Regions from separate parts of the Homo sapiens genome. Here all the other regions are linked to region 1. The links are contacts of gene promoters, found by promoter capture Hi-C in blood cells and fetal thymus (Javierre and others, 2016). All regions are on one chromosome and are shown on one strand. Each heading gives the region's core, a stretch centred on a gene start or on the middle of the fragment in contact. The rest is flanking DNA. Distances are from core to core; before and after follow the strand shown.

Region 1 (4,811 bases), core at 370-2,869:
CTGCTTGTCGCTACCCGGGCCGCCAGGGCCGCCCTGGCCACCGGCCGCCGTCTGGGCTGGCGTGCTGGCTGGGCCCCCTTGGCCGGGCGTCTGTGGCGTGTGCGGGGCGCCGGGCGGCGGGCCGGGCACGGGCGGCGCCTGCGAGGCCTGGCTGCCCTGTGAGCCGGGCACCTCGTCCTGGGGGTCGCGCCACGTGCTGACTACCATTGCCATATCTATGGGGGCTGCGTCCGGACTTCCTGCTCCCCTGGCTGCGGGCGGCGGCGGGGCGGCGGCGGCTCCCCGGGTCTCGGGCTCCGGCGCGCCGCCTTTTGTGTGTGCGAGGGTGCAAGAGGGCGCGGGAGGGCGCCCCGGGTGGCTCGGGGGCTGGTTGGTTGAGGTTGGTTAGTTTTTCCTTTTTTGTTTTTGCTTTTGCAAAGTTTTGTCGATGGCTTGTCTGGCCCGGTGTGTTTGTTTTGTTTGTTTCTCTCGGCTCAGCTTTGTTGGTTTCGGGGGGCTTTCCGCCGGGAGGGGAGGGGAAGGGGACAGGAGAGCGAGTGGGAGCAGAACGTGGAGAAAGAGGGAGGGGAGGGAGAGCTGAAGTCGATTGTCTGGCTTCAAGACAGAAGTAGGAGGCAAAAAAAAAAATCTCTCCAAAGATCTCGCTCGCTCTCACTCTCTCCCTCCCTCTCTCGTTCACTCTCGCTCTTAGAGCTGGTGTGCAGCCGAGGAGTTGGCGGAGGAGGAGGAGGAGGAGGAGGAGGAAGAGGAGGTGGTGGTGAAGGAGGAGGTAGAGGAGGAGGAGAGGCGACTGTCCGGGGGCCAAGTCCAGGGCAGCCCACAGTCAGCCATTCAGGAAAGCCATCGAAATCAGGAGGACTAGGAGATCGGAGGCGCCGGGTGCGGGCGCGCCCAGGGAGCCAGGCAGGCCGGGGCGGAGGCCGGCGGCCCGCGGAGTGGCCGGAGCGCTGCCCGGGTCCGGGGGAATCAGCATGAAAGTGGTCCGCGTCGGGCGCTGCGCGGCGTCGTCCTGGCGCTGGGCCGCCGCCGCCGCCGCCTGCCCCGGGCGTCCGGCGCGCGCCTCGCTCTCTCCGGCCGCCGCCGCCCGCAGTCGCTGGGTGGAGGCCGCTCGCCGTTCCCTGCGGGCCGCCCGGGCCGCCGCTGCCGCCGGAGCCGCCGCCGAAGCCGCCGGGTCGGGCCCGGAGCCGCTGCGTCTAGCGCCGCCGCCGCCGCTGAAGTCGCTGCTGCCGCTGCTGCCGCCGCCGGAGCCGCTGCTGCTGCTGCTGCCGCCGCCGCCTCACACACATAGGGAAAGAGTCAACTCGCCGGCGGCGGGGGAGAAATGATAAAAGAGAGAGAGGAGGGCAGATCACCACCTAGAAGCACATCCTTCGTGCGCAGAGGGGGGAGAAAAAGACGGAGAGAAAGAATGAAAGAGGGGAAAAAAGGCAGTACGGCACCCGGAGAAAGGAGGCAACTCGGGGAGAGGAGGAGGAGAAGAAGAAAACACACACGCGCGCACGCACACACACACCGCGGAGAGAAAAGAACAGAGAATCAAAGTGATCAAATATGCTAAAAAGGGGGGCGCGGGAGGGAATGCGATTTATAGGCGCCGGGGCTGGCAGAAGTGGCTTCTCCGCGATCAGCTCACTGAGCTCTCTATATAGTGAACTTTGACACGACTGCTGCAACTTAGCGCACGTTGCCATGGCGACGGCGCGCCTTATAAGGCAGCAGCCGGGGTTGGCCTGGCCAGGCGCGCGCGCGCCGCCCCCTCGCCGTCATTGGCCGGACTGCGGCGGCCCCGCCATGGCGGCCGCGGGCGCAGCCCGGTCCTAGCGCGAGCGGCGTCGCCGGCGCGGCGCGGGGCACGCGGGGGACCGGGGGTTGGGGGGGCGGGGACGGGGTGGCCGCGCCGCCGCCGCCGCCGCCGCCGAGAGGGGGATGGGCCCGTGCTGGCCCTGCGAGCGCTGCCTCTGCTCTCCCCACATCCCGCACCCGAGGTTTCCGCCCCGGCGGGGAGACTAGCGCAGCGCGCACACACAACGTCTCTTAAAGGCTCCGCGAGAGGCTTTGGATGGAATCGGGGAGTTTGCCTCTCGCAACTTGGCGATGTCACGAATTCCGCCGCTCGCGCACCACCCGGGACTCCTGGCGCATCTTAGTACCCACAATGCCAAAGAAAAGTTCCCTGGTTTCTTTGCAGAGGGATAGGGAGTGAGGGTGGGAAGGTGCCACGAACTGAGCTTGTAGGCATTTTCCAAACGAAAGAGTTGGCCAGATCCGGGTGATGGCAAACCCTTCTCTTAATTAACTCTGATCACTTGTTCGGTTTGGTGACATATATATATGACATATATTCTTTTCAGAGGATAAAGGCCGTTCTGTTTCTGTTTATTCCTTGTAGGGTTAACATTTCACAGGTATGTGGCCTGACATTTTAATTGCCCAAATAAAGCATCTCGGATGCTGAGAAGCAGAAATAGACTTCATCTGATTGTCATGATGCAATTAGAATCAATTTTCCTCAACTTTACCCTCTCTCGCTGGTTTTAGCTAACTCTCCAGCCAACATCCTGCCACACACCCAGTCATGGTGAGAGGGGAAAGACCTCTGCCCACTGATGGACAGGAGGAGGCAGCCGCCCAGCCTCCCCTGTGCACACCCTCTGTACACACATGTAAGCGCACATGTATCAGATGCACATTTGTCAATGTACACAGACAAAGACTTCACCGACTATGCTTCTAGGTCATAGAACAGTTGAGTACGGACTTCATTGTTCCTCAAGTTCCTTTTAAGCATTCATATAGTCATTAAAACGCACCCAGAGATTCTGCCCCAAATGGGAAATAATACTAGTACAGGTCACAAGAACCAAACCCAAGCCATATTCTACCTCAAGAAGTCACTGCAAAAAGAACAACTTCATAGCCTATTGCCATTCTGCTCCATGTGCTAAAATAATTGAGACAGTTGTGTCTTTGAATTCCAGGGTGTCTGGTTTTAAACATCAAACATGTAGAATTGCTCTCAGAACACACTATATTCCAACGCAGTAAACTTGTTGTTTATGACCAGTTAGTGAATTATCATTATTCCACATTTATACAAGAAAATTGTGTCTCCTTTGTACACACTTTGCACCAAGAAAAAACCTCATGCCGGTAAACCAACCAGGTTTGTGAACAATTAAAATATTTTACACAAAAGACGCTGAGCTCCAGGAAAGAAATGAACACATATGAAGAGTAAATTGATGACCACAGAAAACATCCTTGGTAGCTGAAAAAAAAATTGACAGGGTAAAGATATTTTAAAAATAAACCATACATATAATTGACATGCATAGATCACATTTTACATTCAATTCTCTTTACACACATAGGCAGAATATGAGGTAAGGACTAAAGATCTGGGCAGATAGGGGCTGGTTTTTAGGAAAGGAAAAATCTTCTTTAAGCTTCATTCCCGAAACCTCAGCCCTCACTCTTTCTCCGATGAAATCACGTATTTCACTAAAGCTGCAGGTTCTCGGTTTATTTGAAAGTTGTTAAAAAAAAAAAAAAAAGCCCAGCAAACCTATAGTGGACACTGAACTATCATAAACCTGGTGTGTAATAAGATTGCCACAGAATGAAGCCAAGCTGAGAATTTCAGGTTAATTAGAGACACAATATAACTTTCTCCTAAAGAGGATAAGAAGGATGGAAAAGAAATCATTACACAGGAGAAGGTTTTTGGTAGTTGTTGTTGTTTTCCCTTCCAACCTCTATGATTCAGGAATTGCTAATGTTACAAATGTCAGCAGATTCGGGACAAGCTCAGCTGAGATGTGATGAGACTGGGGTTGAGATAGGAAATCTAATGGGCATTCCCATCTCAATAGAGGATGAAAATAATTGATTATAGGGAAATCTTCATCTCACCTCCTGAATGAGACTTCCATAGCAGATTACCTTTTACAAACATGGGAAGGAACAATATCGAGGAGGAAGAGCTTCCCCAGTCCACTTAGAGATTTTTGGAATTTGAAGTATGCGTGATGGCCTTAGATTAAAATGGAATAATTTCCCAACCATATCTTAACAAATTGGAGCCTGCTAGGCAAATGATCACAGGGCTGCCATAAAGTCAGGGGTGTTTCACTCTGTATTTTAGGACTCATTCAGTTATGAAATGCTGTTACAAGGGAGAAAAAAAATCACCGTATGAATTATACTTAATTTTAATGCATAGAAGAAGAGACAAGACTACAGACTGAGAAGAAAAAAGGGCAAAAATATTTTTAAATGTCTTCTCCAGAGATGCTCACTTGCTGTGCGTCTAAGGTTAAAAAGCTCTGAGAAGATAAAATCAATATATTATTGTTGTTTTTTAAAAATCCAACTCAGTCTTTTTTTGCAGATGTAAATTTATTATAATGAGAAGAATGGCAAGCTTTAATTTGCCTAGAGAAAGTTGGGACAACATTTGCCCTAATCTAAAAAAGAAAAGAAAGAAACTCAACACCCAGGAATATAATTTTCTTGCAGAAAGTGGCCTGATGGGCTGTATTTCTTTACAGATTGAATCACAATATGAATACAGACCCCAGCAAATGCCGAGTTTAACTCTGAACTCAGTAGAAACCAGTTCCGTCCTCCAGGATTCATTGAATTCCTCCTTTCCCTCAATCTAGTCCGTGTGTGTTTTTCTCTTCCACCACACTGGAGCTCCATGAATAGGGAAAGGGGCTTCCATTGTGTCCCTCTGAACTTCCAAGTCAATGCAATTTTTAACCACTGGCTTGTGGTACTTTGAAAATCACCAGGGGCTGTCAGAGTTA
Region 2 (4,811 bases), core at 720-3,219, 1.4 Mb before region 1:
TACTCATCATTATTTTCATAATAGCTAAAATGTGCATAACAATTTTCTGTTTATAAAATACTTTCATATCCATCATCAAATTTAATATGGGGTACAAACCATGCACAAGACGGTCTGTAAAGCACAAAAGTAGCTCATTATGCATAAATATAAAGTGCTTTTTACTACTCTGAAGATTCCCAAGAGAGAATGTGTTCTTATTCCCCATTGCTTCTTCTAATACTGAGTTGGGAGGAGCCATGAGTTGGATATGTTAATTTTTATGTTTGTGGTCCTGCTACATCCTCAATCTTCCATTGTATAGTACCTTAAAGATGCCCATTCTTGATACCAAGTACTATTTGGGGATGCATTTAAATTTTCTGTGTGTGCCCTAAAGCTTGGGAAAAGCATAACAGCTAAACGTGGCAATTTCCTGCTTACTTTAAAACTCTGCCTTAAAATGTTGCCAGTCTGGGGCTGTGCAGAGAGAGAAGGGGCAGCAGCCTAAACACAAGAGAAAGGCAAGCTCTGTTTAACTCGATGTTTGCTCACTATGGCATGGCTGATGCTGCCTGGAAAAAATACTGTGAGCCCATCATTTCCACCAAGGGACCAGGGCATGGTTTGGCATACCTATGCCACGATGCATCCACAAGGCCAAATTAAGAGAGGATGGCTCTCTGGGTCTAGTTTAAGGAGAAAAGAGCCCTCTGCAAACAAAACCTACCTCTGAAAAGGCTCCACGGGACACAACATCTAAAGGTATTTGCCACGGTCTGTATATTGAAAGTCAAATAGCTCTCATTCAGGAGCAAAGCCCATCTTCCCTTTTTATGTCTTCAGCACTTATTGACAAAAGCAAAGTTGAGAATGGCAAAGAGGGATTGTTCTGCTGTGGCTTTCATACAGAGGAGGCACTGGCTGTAAAGACAGGGCGTAATGATCCATCCCTCTTGGGAGGGATTGTGGACGGATCAATAAAATGCAGACATTGATACAGAACAGGCACATGGTATTCCTCACTCCCACATCCTCTTTCCTGGGGGCACTCAAAGGCTATTGACTTTGGGGATATTGTCATGAGCTGGGGCCAAGGTGACATATGGTGGTTTCTCTTCCTTCTGCCTGCTCCGCCATCTTGGTCGTAAATGGAGGATAATAGTACTAGAGAATAGGGAAGATAAGGGGTCTATAGGGCCACCATGTCTACCAAGTCCAGGAGGTGCTGTTTACAGGCTGCAATGTGAATGACACCCTCAGGGGCTGGGTAACACCCTATGGCTTGGACTCTTGAGTGACCTTTTCTTGTATCAATGTCAGTCAGCATGCTATTGATCATCCTCTTCAACTCCCAAAGCATCCATCTTCTTTGGTGAGGATATAGAGCATTGCCCCATGGCTGCTCTGGTCACACTGTTCTTGCCCATCGATCCACATTGAAGGACACACTCCTCACTTCAAACCATTTCACATTCTCTTCAGGTTTCATCAGCAATGAGAACTTAATTGAGGGAAACTAGATCTCCACAATCCTACATTGGAATATAGAAAAGTACAAGGACATGCACGGCACTTTGAAGGCTTTTAAAACACGCAATGCCAGACTTCGGTGTGCCACATGGACTAATGCTTCACATTTGCATGCCTACACATTTTATCCTGTGAACTTTATCTTACCTGCTTAATAAGTTGTTCAGTGACTTTAAATAACTACTGAATTAAAAAATCTATAAGGTTACCCTGGGTTCAGGTAGTCATTTGCATTGAGGCAGTAGAGAGAGGCCAGGCTGGGATGAGCTGGTTAGGAACTAAACTCACAGGGGCTCCGCTCCTAAGAGGATGAGCTAGACCTATGTGACTTCCTCCTTGCAAAGGGGAGGTGACTCTGGCTGGCCTGATCTTTCAAAGGATGCTTTTATAGCCTTTGTTCTGATCATCCAAATGGATTAAAAAATTACAGTCATTTTAACTAGGTGGGTCTTTCTCATTTATTATTCATGTTCCGAGATCCATTTCTGATGCTTAAGAATAATGCAACCCTCGTCAGAGGCAGCAGACCTGACACGGGATCCTGGGTCTAACATAACTAGGCTGTGGAACCTAGGCAACTTATTTAATATCTTTGAGCCACATTTCCCACGCCAGTAATGAGGGATTAATTGGATGTAAGGGGTTGTTTTGTGATATTAGGTAAACTATGCCATACAAGAATACCTACATAATTCCTGGTTCACTTTAGGTGCTCAGTGGAGATCAATTAAAGCTGAATCTGGCTGTGACTAAGAATGCAGGAGGAAGTCGGTATCTGGTGAGTGCAAAGGGCCTAGGGTCATGTACAATTAATTACTCCATTATTCCTCAGTTGTCCCCAATGCTCTCCAACTGATGCACCCACCCTCACTCTTCCTGCTCAAATGGTATTAACCCACTTTAGATGTTTATTTTATTCTTCAAGATCATCTTTCCACAAATATTAGATGCCTACTAAGTTCTATGTGTTCAAAGTAGTTGAAAGTGATACAGAAGATTTAGAGATGAATTAGAAATTGATTGAAGACATGCCCATGTATGTTCATTGCAGCAATATTCACAATAGCAAAGACATGGAATCCATGTAAATGCCCACTAATGGTAGACTGGATAAAGAAAATGTGGTACATATACACCATGCAGCCATAAAAAAGAACAAGATCATGTCCTTTGCAGCAACATGGATGGAGTTGGAGGCCCATTATTTTAAGTGAACTAACAGTAACAGAAAGCCAAATATCACATAGTCTCACTTCTAAGGGGGAGCTAAACATTGAGTACATATGGACATGAATAAGGGAAAAACAGACACCAGGGCCTACTTGAGGGTGGAGGGTGGGAGGAGGGTGAAGATCAAAATCCACCTATGGAATACTGTACTTATTACCTGGGTGACTAAATAATTTGTACACCAAATCCTCATGACACAAGTTTACTTATATAACAAATCTACACGTGTACCCCAGAACCCAAAATAAAAGTAAAACAAAAGACAACAACAACAAAACAAACAAAGAAATTGACTGAAGAATTTATATTAAATGGGTTACCCGTGAATAAAAATGCATTATGGTATTGAGGTTGCTTATGCTGCTGATGGTGATGGCAGTGAGGGAGAAGTGAGTTTTAGTTTCCTTGGGCCACATCTTTCTAGGGATAAAGCCAGTTGTTCTCATTCATCTTTACATTGCCAGCCTCTATTATAGAGGTCTAGAATCCAAGTCAAATGACTGAGTGTATAAATGAATAACCTCTGCCCAGCAACTGCTGGGTTTACCACAGTGCCCGCACTCACACACACTTGAACATTTCTCATTTGAAACCCTTTGAAGAACTGCTTGTTTCCATTCTGTTCTTTAAAGAGGTTCTTTTACAAATGAAAAACAGTATAAAGCTAAAATTACAGTACAACACATGCTGAAACTTTCCTGAAATGGCAAAGATCACAAATCCAACAACTGCAGTAGAAAAGCAAAAGAGGAGGTGAAGGCAGCAGCTAATCAGGAGGCAGAGAGTGGAGATCTGATGGAGTTTCTACAAAGCTTTCTGTGCCAGAGACTCCTTCCAAGAGCAACCTCAGGCCTGCCTCCCTACTATGAAGGAAGCATTCAGAGCTACATGCACTTCAGAGCATGAGATGGATGTTTTAACATTGTGATGAGAAATTCTCTTTCTCTCTGTTCCAGTTTTTGATACCATGGGAAAAAGCCCTCTGGTCCTTGCTCTTATCCAGAGATGCTTTCAAGAAACAATAGAAGTTTATTTCCTATCATGGGGGCATTAGCATCACTTTGTCTTGTCTGTTGAGTAAGGCCTGAGTATGCCAACACCTGGAAAGCCTCAGGAAGGCCTATGTGGGCTTTGTGTCCCTTAACCCTGAGGATTCTTTGCTTCTGAGATATGAGCAAGAAGGAATTGCTGCTTAGTAACTTCAGTGTTATCATTATACCTCGACCACTGAGTTCTCCATCTCCTGATGGGAAACTGTTGTCTTACTTATTAACCTCTCTCCACAGTATCAGGAACCAGAAAGGGATCATTATTCAAGCTCTTCTAATTTAGAAATGCCCCATGTTTTTGATCATCTGAAATTTCTTTTTTTAAAAGACAATTGGTGAATGATGTTAGCCCAAGCTCCGTGGCCCAAGTACCAAGTACTCAGTATCCTTTGTGAGTGTTTGCTTCTTACAGTATGCTTTTATATGCATAATCTTACTTGAGATTTAGCACTCTTTCGAGGCAGGTGGAGAGGGACTGTTATCCTTATTTTATTGCCAAAGAGGGAATTGCCCAAAGAAGTCATTTGATCCACCAACAAGAATCCCAGCTCTCATAGAAATAGAGTTGGGGCATAAATCCAGGTTATCTATGATTTCTAGTCCAACGATCTGTATTACATGTAAGATTAGTTCTTTTCCTCTAGAGATTCTGAGTAGAAAGAACTAACCAATACTGAAAATATGTCTTCACTAGGACATTTTCCAGTCCTCACTTGTACTGTTGAATATTGATTTGTTTCTCTATCTCCTTATAAAAGTCACCCAGATATTTGCTGACTCTTATTTTCCTAAGATACCACCACAGCAAATAGATTAGCCAACCAACAGTTCCATACTGTTAAGTATGTTCTCCTTGGAAATGTTAAGAAACGAAGCTTGAATGGGATGAAGCATTGGGAAGTGAGGGCTGACCCCCTTCCTCCTCATGGCTGGGAGCAGGTTAACGCTGGCCTTTGGCAGAGGAAACAAGCCTCCATGGCCCCCACAAAGCCTTCCAGCTACATTGGCCTTTGCTCTGTG
Region 3 (4,811 bases), core at 723-3,222, 1.3 Mb after region 1:
GTTATGGGAAAAAATAGAAATAACATATAAAAATAAATGAGCTATAGGTGTAGAAACAATTATTAAGGCATCAGCATTGTTTAACATCTTTACAAAGTTTAGTTAATTAGGGAATATGTATTTATTAAGCCTTGACTCCACAGCAATTTTGGTTGTGGAGTCAATTCTTTCTAGCCCCTGTGGATTCAGGGGCTTATCTTGGTAACATTGTGGCAATTCACTTCAAGACTAATATTTTAGAGTAAATAATATGAATTAAAATACTTACTCCAACACAGATTGTTGAAGGTTGACAATTTCTTTAGTGTTTGATACAGTTTCCTAAGATGATCAATTTCATTTTGGAGAATGGAAGTGGGGACACCTCTTTGCTTCAGTTCCACATTCCTTTAAAGCTAATGGAGTAGTTTAGATTCAGTATAGAATGACTTGATAGAAAAGTTTTTAATCAACTTGAAGCACTTGGGTTTTGGAGATAGAAAAAAAAATGAGTAAATTACTTCTCACTTACTAAATGCTAAAATTTTCCACTTCTTATTTTTCCCCTTCTTATTTTAAATGTAATTGTGTAGCAAAACTCTTCAGGAAACAATTCAGGGATCTTCTATACCCTCCAAACCCCTCACTTATGTATTTCTTTCCATTGACATGCATTTATACACTAATGACCCATAATCTTAACAATAAAATGACCCTTCTCCATAGCAAATCGTTGATTCACAAAGCTCAGACATCTCCATCATCTATGTTCAGACAATTGTGCTGGGAATCTTTTCTTAACAAAATGATGCCAAATTCTTAACAGCAGGTTGCATCTGAAGACTGACTTGTGGCAGAAATTAGTGACTTTGATTTAAACACCCTTTTCTCTAAATGTTTCAAAGAAAGAGTGAGAGGGAATAAAAAGGGCAGTTTGTTAAAAAAATAAAATAAAATAAATGATAGACAACACTTAAAAGTAATACATTTATGTTGGTTTCTTGTAGCAATTCTCATTTTCTCCCTTTAGGATTAAATGTCAGCTGAAGGTTGAATCGGGCAAAAACTGAAAGAAGACAACAGTTTGAAGGCTTCCCTTTCCATTTCCAAACATAATACCAAATGACTTAAAATGAATGAAGATGCTTTAGAGCTCTGGGTGTCACGATAAAACATAAACTTACACATTCACTTTGACCCACATATTGTCCTTTCTAAGATGTTTCAAAATGGGAAAATCCTCTGTGTCATTTTATTTGAAAAAAAAAATCAGGAAGCACCATTGCATGCATGTGAGCCGAGCAGATGTGCATACAAACATGCGTGTGTGTACATGAAGCACAACCAGCATTTGGAATATCCTCCCTCAGGCAAAGCAAGGACCTGTAAGTAGTACTATTTTTCCTATCAGCCCTGGAGAGTACAGAGGGAGCCCTGTGTGTTATTAATGGATAAAATCTGAACGGCAGCCAACCCCAAGGTGAACCCTATGCATTTAAAACATTTCATCAGACAGCTAAGGTTTTTCTTTTTTTTTTCAGCAGATATCTCTCCAGCCACCACTCAATAGATCCCAAGAAGAGAGCAATAGCTGGCCTCACTAATGTGCAAATTGATAGTATGAGCTCCCCACCAAAATATAAACAGCTCTTTATTCCTTAAGTATCAATATCATAGGCTGGGCTGGTGTGAGGGAAGTCTGTGGACTACCGTAGAATTATCTGGCAAAAAGAAATAGTAAATGTAAAATCTTTGCCCAGCCAGCTGGCTTCCTGAGTTTCTTTCTGTGATGTTTGAATGCTCTGCTGAATTCTAACAGCTGGAATCTAGACATTTGTCTAGTTTATGACTTCAGTTTTTTATAAGGGTTAATGTGGGTGGTTTATAAAGTTAGAGGTAGAATAAAAATAATTAATGTTTACTTATTATTTTTATTTGTCTCTGCTTAATTACTAAAATGGTTTGAATGTTCACTGGTTATTTTCATTTGCTGCGGTCCATTCTTTACTCTGTTTTGTTCCCAGAGAGGCTGACTCCTGCGTATTGTATCACCCTGGCTACCTGGCCAACTGGCTTCAAATTGGGCTTGACCACTGGGAGGTCCTGAGAGAAGACTGGAGGACAACAAGAGGCAGAGACTGTGGTATTTCTTTCTTCCTACTGTGGGCCGGATTGCTGGCACTGGCTGTGTCCTTCCAGGAACACAGCTCCCAAAGAGAGGCCCATCTGCATGGCCCCAGCTCTCACTGTTCTTTGCTAACACAACTTCCATTCGTGCCTCTTTAGGCTTGGAAGTGGCAAAGCCTGTCCACTCTTGCTAGTCTCTGAGTGCCTCATATCCCTGATTTTTCCCTTTTGCTCTATCCACAACTCAGGAAGTAATTTCTTCATTAGAGTCCCCTGTACCACATGGACTGGATTCAACTTTCTGCTATTTTCAGTATTAAATTAGTTAATATTTGTAGAATGCTTACAATAGTGCCTGACACATAATAAGCATGCTTTATGTTTGTTAAATCAATAAAAATAAACACATATAATATAACACTGAGTCATGTGTTCAGAGGAAAGGGGTGCTATGTTTGTCCAGGCGGAATCAAGAGCTCACCCCTGGTGTAAGAGTTTGTGGAGTCAAGGGGTTAATACGCAGGAGAAAGAAAACCCCCAAGGTGACCAAAACAATAGCAGCAACAACAAAACAGAGTTGTATGCCATACCCTAGTTCCTAAGGTTGCTATTTTGGCCTCAAGGATTCTTTTTTTTTAATATTGGTTAAACATGCATTTCATTTTTCCAAAGTAGAATTTGAAACTCTACTAACTCTACTAACTTTAGTTGCTCTTCCTAACTAAAGAGAGCAAAGACTAAGCAAGTATGAGTAAAACAAAAGGAAACTTTATTAACACATCCTGGCTACCTTTAGGCCAGTAGAGAGGAAGAGGAGGAGGATGTACATGCCTAGAAAAGAATAGGAAGTCACAGCCCTTGCCACTGCAGCCTGGGTGTGTGACACTGCAGTAGGCTATGTCAAGGAAGGCTGTAGTCCCCAAGGAACTAGATCTGCCTTGTCTTATGGGAGAAATGCAGAGCAGGAATTCAGTAGTCTGGCAGGTCAAGCAGCAAAGGCCCAGCAAAGAATGTGAGTCCTGTCATCCAAGACCATCTTAGGGCCCTTTTTTTTTTTTTTTTTCTTTGAGACGGAGTCTTGCTCTGTCACCCAGGCTGGAAGTGCAGTGGAGCGATCTCGGCTCACTGCAACCTCTGCCTCCTGGGTTCAAGCTATTCTGCCTCAGCCTCCTGAGTAGCTGGGACTACAGGCACCTGCCACCATGCCTGGCTAATTTTTGTATTTTTAGTAGAGATGGGGGTTTCACCATATCGGCCAGGCTGGTCTCGAACTCCTGACCTTGTGATCCGCCCGCCTCAGCCTCCCAAAGTGCTGTGATTACAGGCGTGAGCCACCACGCCTGGCCTGGGCCCTTCTTTTAACTGAATGTATTTTATTGAATCTGACCAGCCTGACAATGGCTCGTCTGTGCCTGCGCAAGAAACTCACCAATACTGTCAAATGATATTGCTCCAATCTAGACTGTACACATGAATTCAACTACTACACTATTATCAGGTTTTGTTGCAAATTTGTCCCCAAAAAGATTGTCCTAGGAACCACTGTTATATACTCTGCAATGCAAATCTCCATTTGCCTTTCAAGAAGCTCCGTTCAGCAGGAACTGGCCTCATCTCGAAATTTATTACCCTTTTGCCACTTTTATGTCTGCCCAAGTCTGAATTTTTTGTCTAGAACGCTGCCTAGGGAGGCTCTAACAGAACAGTTTGTGGTTGCAACTCAATGCCATAAAGAAGAGTTGAGGTGCTGGAGAATCCATTTTAAGTTCAGCAGAAGAATGCAGAGTAGGCAATTTGTGTTCTGTCCTTTCACAAGTGTCCTTACCCAGCTTAGAGGCAGACAGACGTCTTTAAGTTTCCAATTTCTGGTTGATAACTGTTGGCTTCCAGAGATGCATGGAAGCCCACATACACACATGAATAAGCATGTATGTGTGCATGGGTACACAGAAACACACATACACACACTAGGCACAATTCCATATATCTCCCAAGGCAAGCATTACTTCTATTCTAAATCTATAAGAAAGAAAAACAATATTTTCCTAAGTGCTCCATCATTTGAAAGGCAGCCTCTCAGAGTGGAGTTCACACTGAGCCCTGTCTGGTTCGATGCAAATAAGAATAATGCACATTGCTGAGACATAGATCACTTTTTTTGTTTTGTTTTTTTGTAGAGATGAGGTCTCTCTCTGTCACCCAGGCTGGAGTGCGGTGGAATGAACACAGCTAATTGCAGCCTCAAAATCCTGAGCTCAAGTCATTCTTTGACCTCAGCCTCCTAAGTAGCTGGGACCACAAGCATGTGTCACCACACCTGGCTTCTTTTGTTTGTTTGTTTTGTACAGATGGGGGTCTGTGGCTCAGGTTGATCTCAAACTCTTGGCTTCCTCCTGCCTTGGCCTCTCAAAGTGCTGGAATTATAGGCATGAGCCACCATTCCTGGCTGAGGGGGGGATATTTTAAATTACTATGTTTCATTCTTAAATAAAATATGTTCATGATAATTAAAACAAGAAACAAGATTTATAATGAACAGTGACAGTATCCAAGCCCATCCCAGGTCTATTTTCCTATTCCAGAGATACAGACATTAATGGTAGTTTAGTTTTATATTTTTAGCAATATGCATATAAATATGCTTTTATATTTTTATGCAATAAAATGAATTTCCTTTTTGTCTTTATAGATCAATGATTTTGTGC

What was found. The method cuts DNA at HindIII sites, captures the fragments that hold promoters and counts their contacts. A CHiCAGO score of 5 or more calls a contact.
Region 2: a fragment that was not itself captured here is called in contact with the fragment with the promoter of NR2F2 in region 1 in 1 of 17 cell types (monocytes); the score reaches 5.2 in monocytes.
Region 3: a contact is called between a fragment that was not itself captured here and the fragment with the promoter of NR2F2 in region 1, in 1 of 17 cell types (endothelial precursors). The highest score is 5.3, in endothelial precursors.

The regions. Positions count from the first base shown.
Region 1 is chr15:96,327,508-96,332,318 of GRCh38, reverse strand. NR2F2 (nuclear receptor subfamily 2 group F member 2) reads right to left here and starts at 1,619. Exons shown (of 3, transcript NM_021005.4): 1 at 1-1,619. The coding sequence starts at 213. RefSeq lists a silencer at 1,727-1,866. The HindIII fragment of the contact is 6,805 bases long and covers 1-3,448 here.
Region 2 is chr15:97,736,714-97,741,524 of GRCh38, reverse strand. No RefSeq gene overlaps it. Among named protein-coding and RNA genes, the nearest start is that of LINC00923, 140 kb to the left of the region's middle. The HindIII fragment of the contact is 3,175 bases long and covers 382-3,556 here.
Region 3 is chr15:95,031,937-95,036,747 of GRCh38, reverse strand. All of the region lies in intron 3 of LOC105370991 (a long non-coding RNA gene), which reads right to left. LOC124903581 (a long non-coding RNA gene) reads left to right here and starts at 1,010. Exons shown (of 2, transcript XR_007064798.1): 1 at 1,010-1,364; 2 at 2,004-4,811. The HindIII fragment of the contact is 8,797 bases long and covers 1-4,811 here.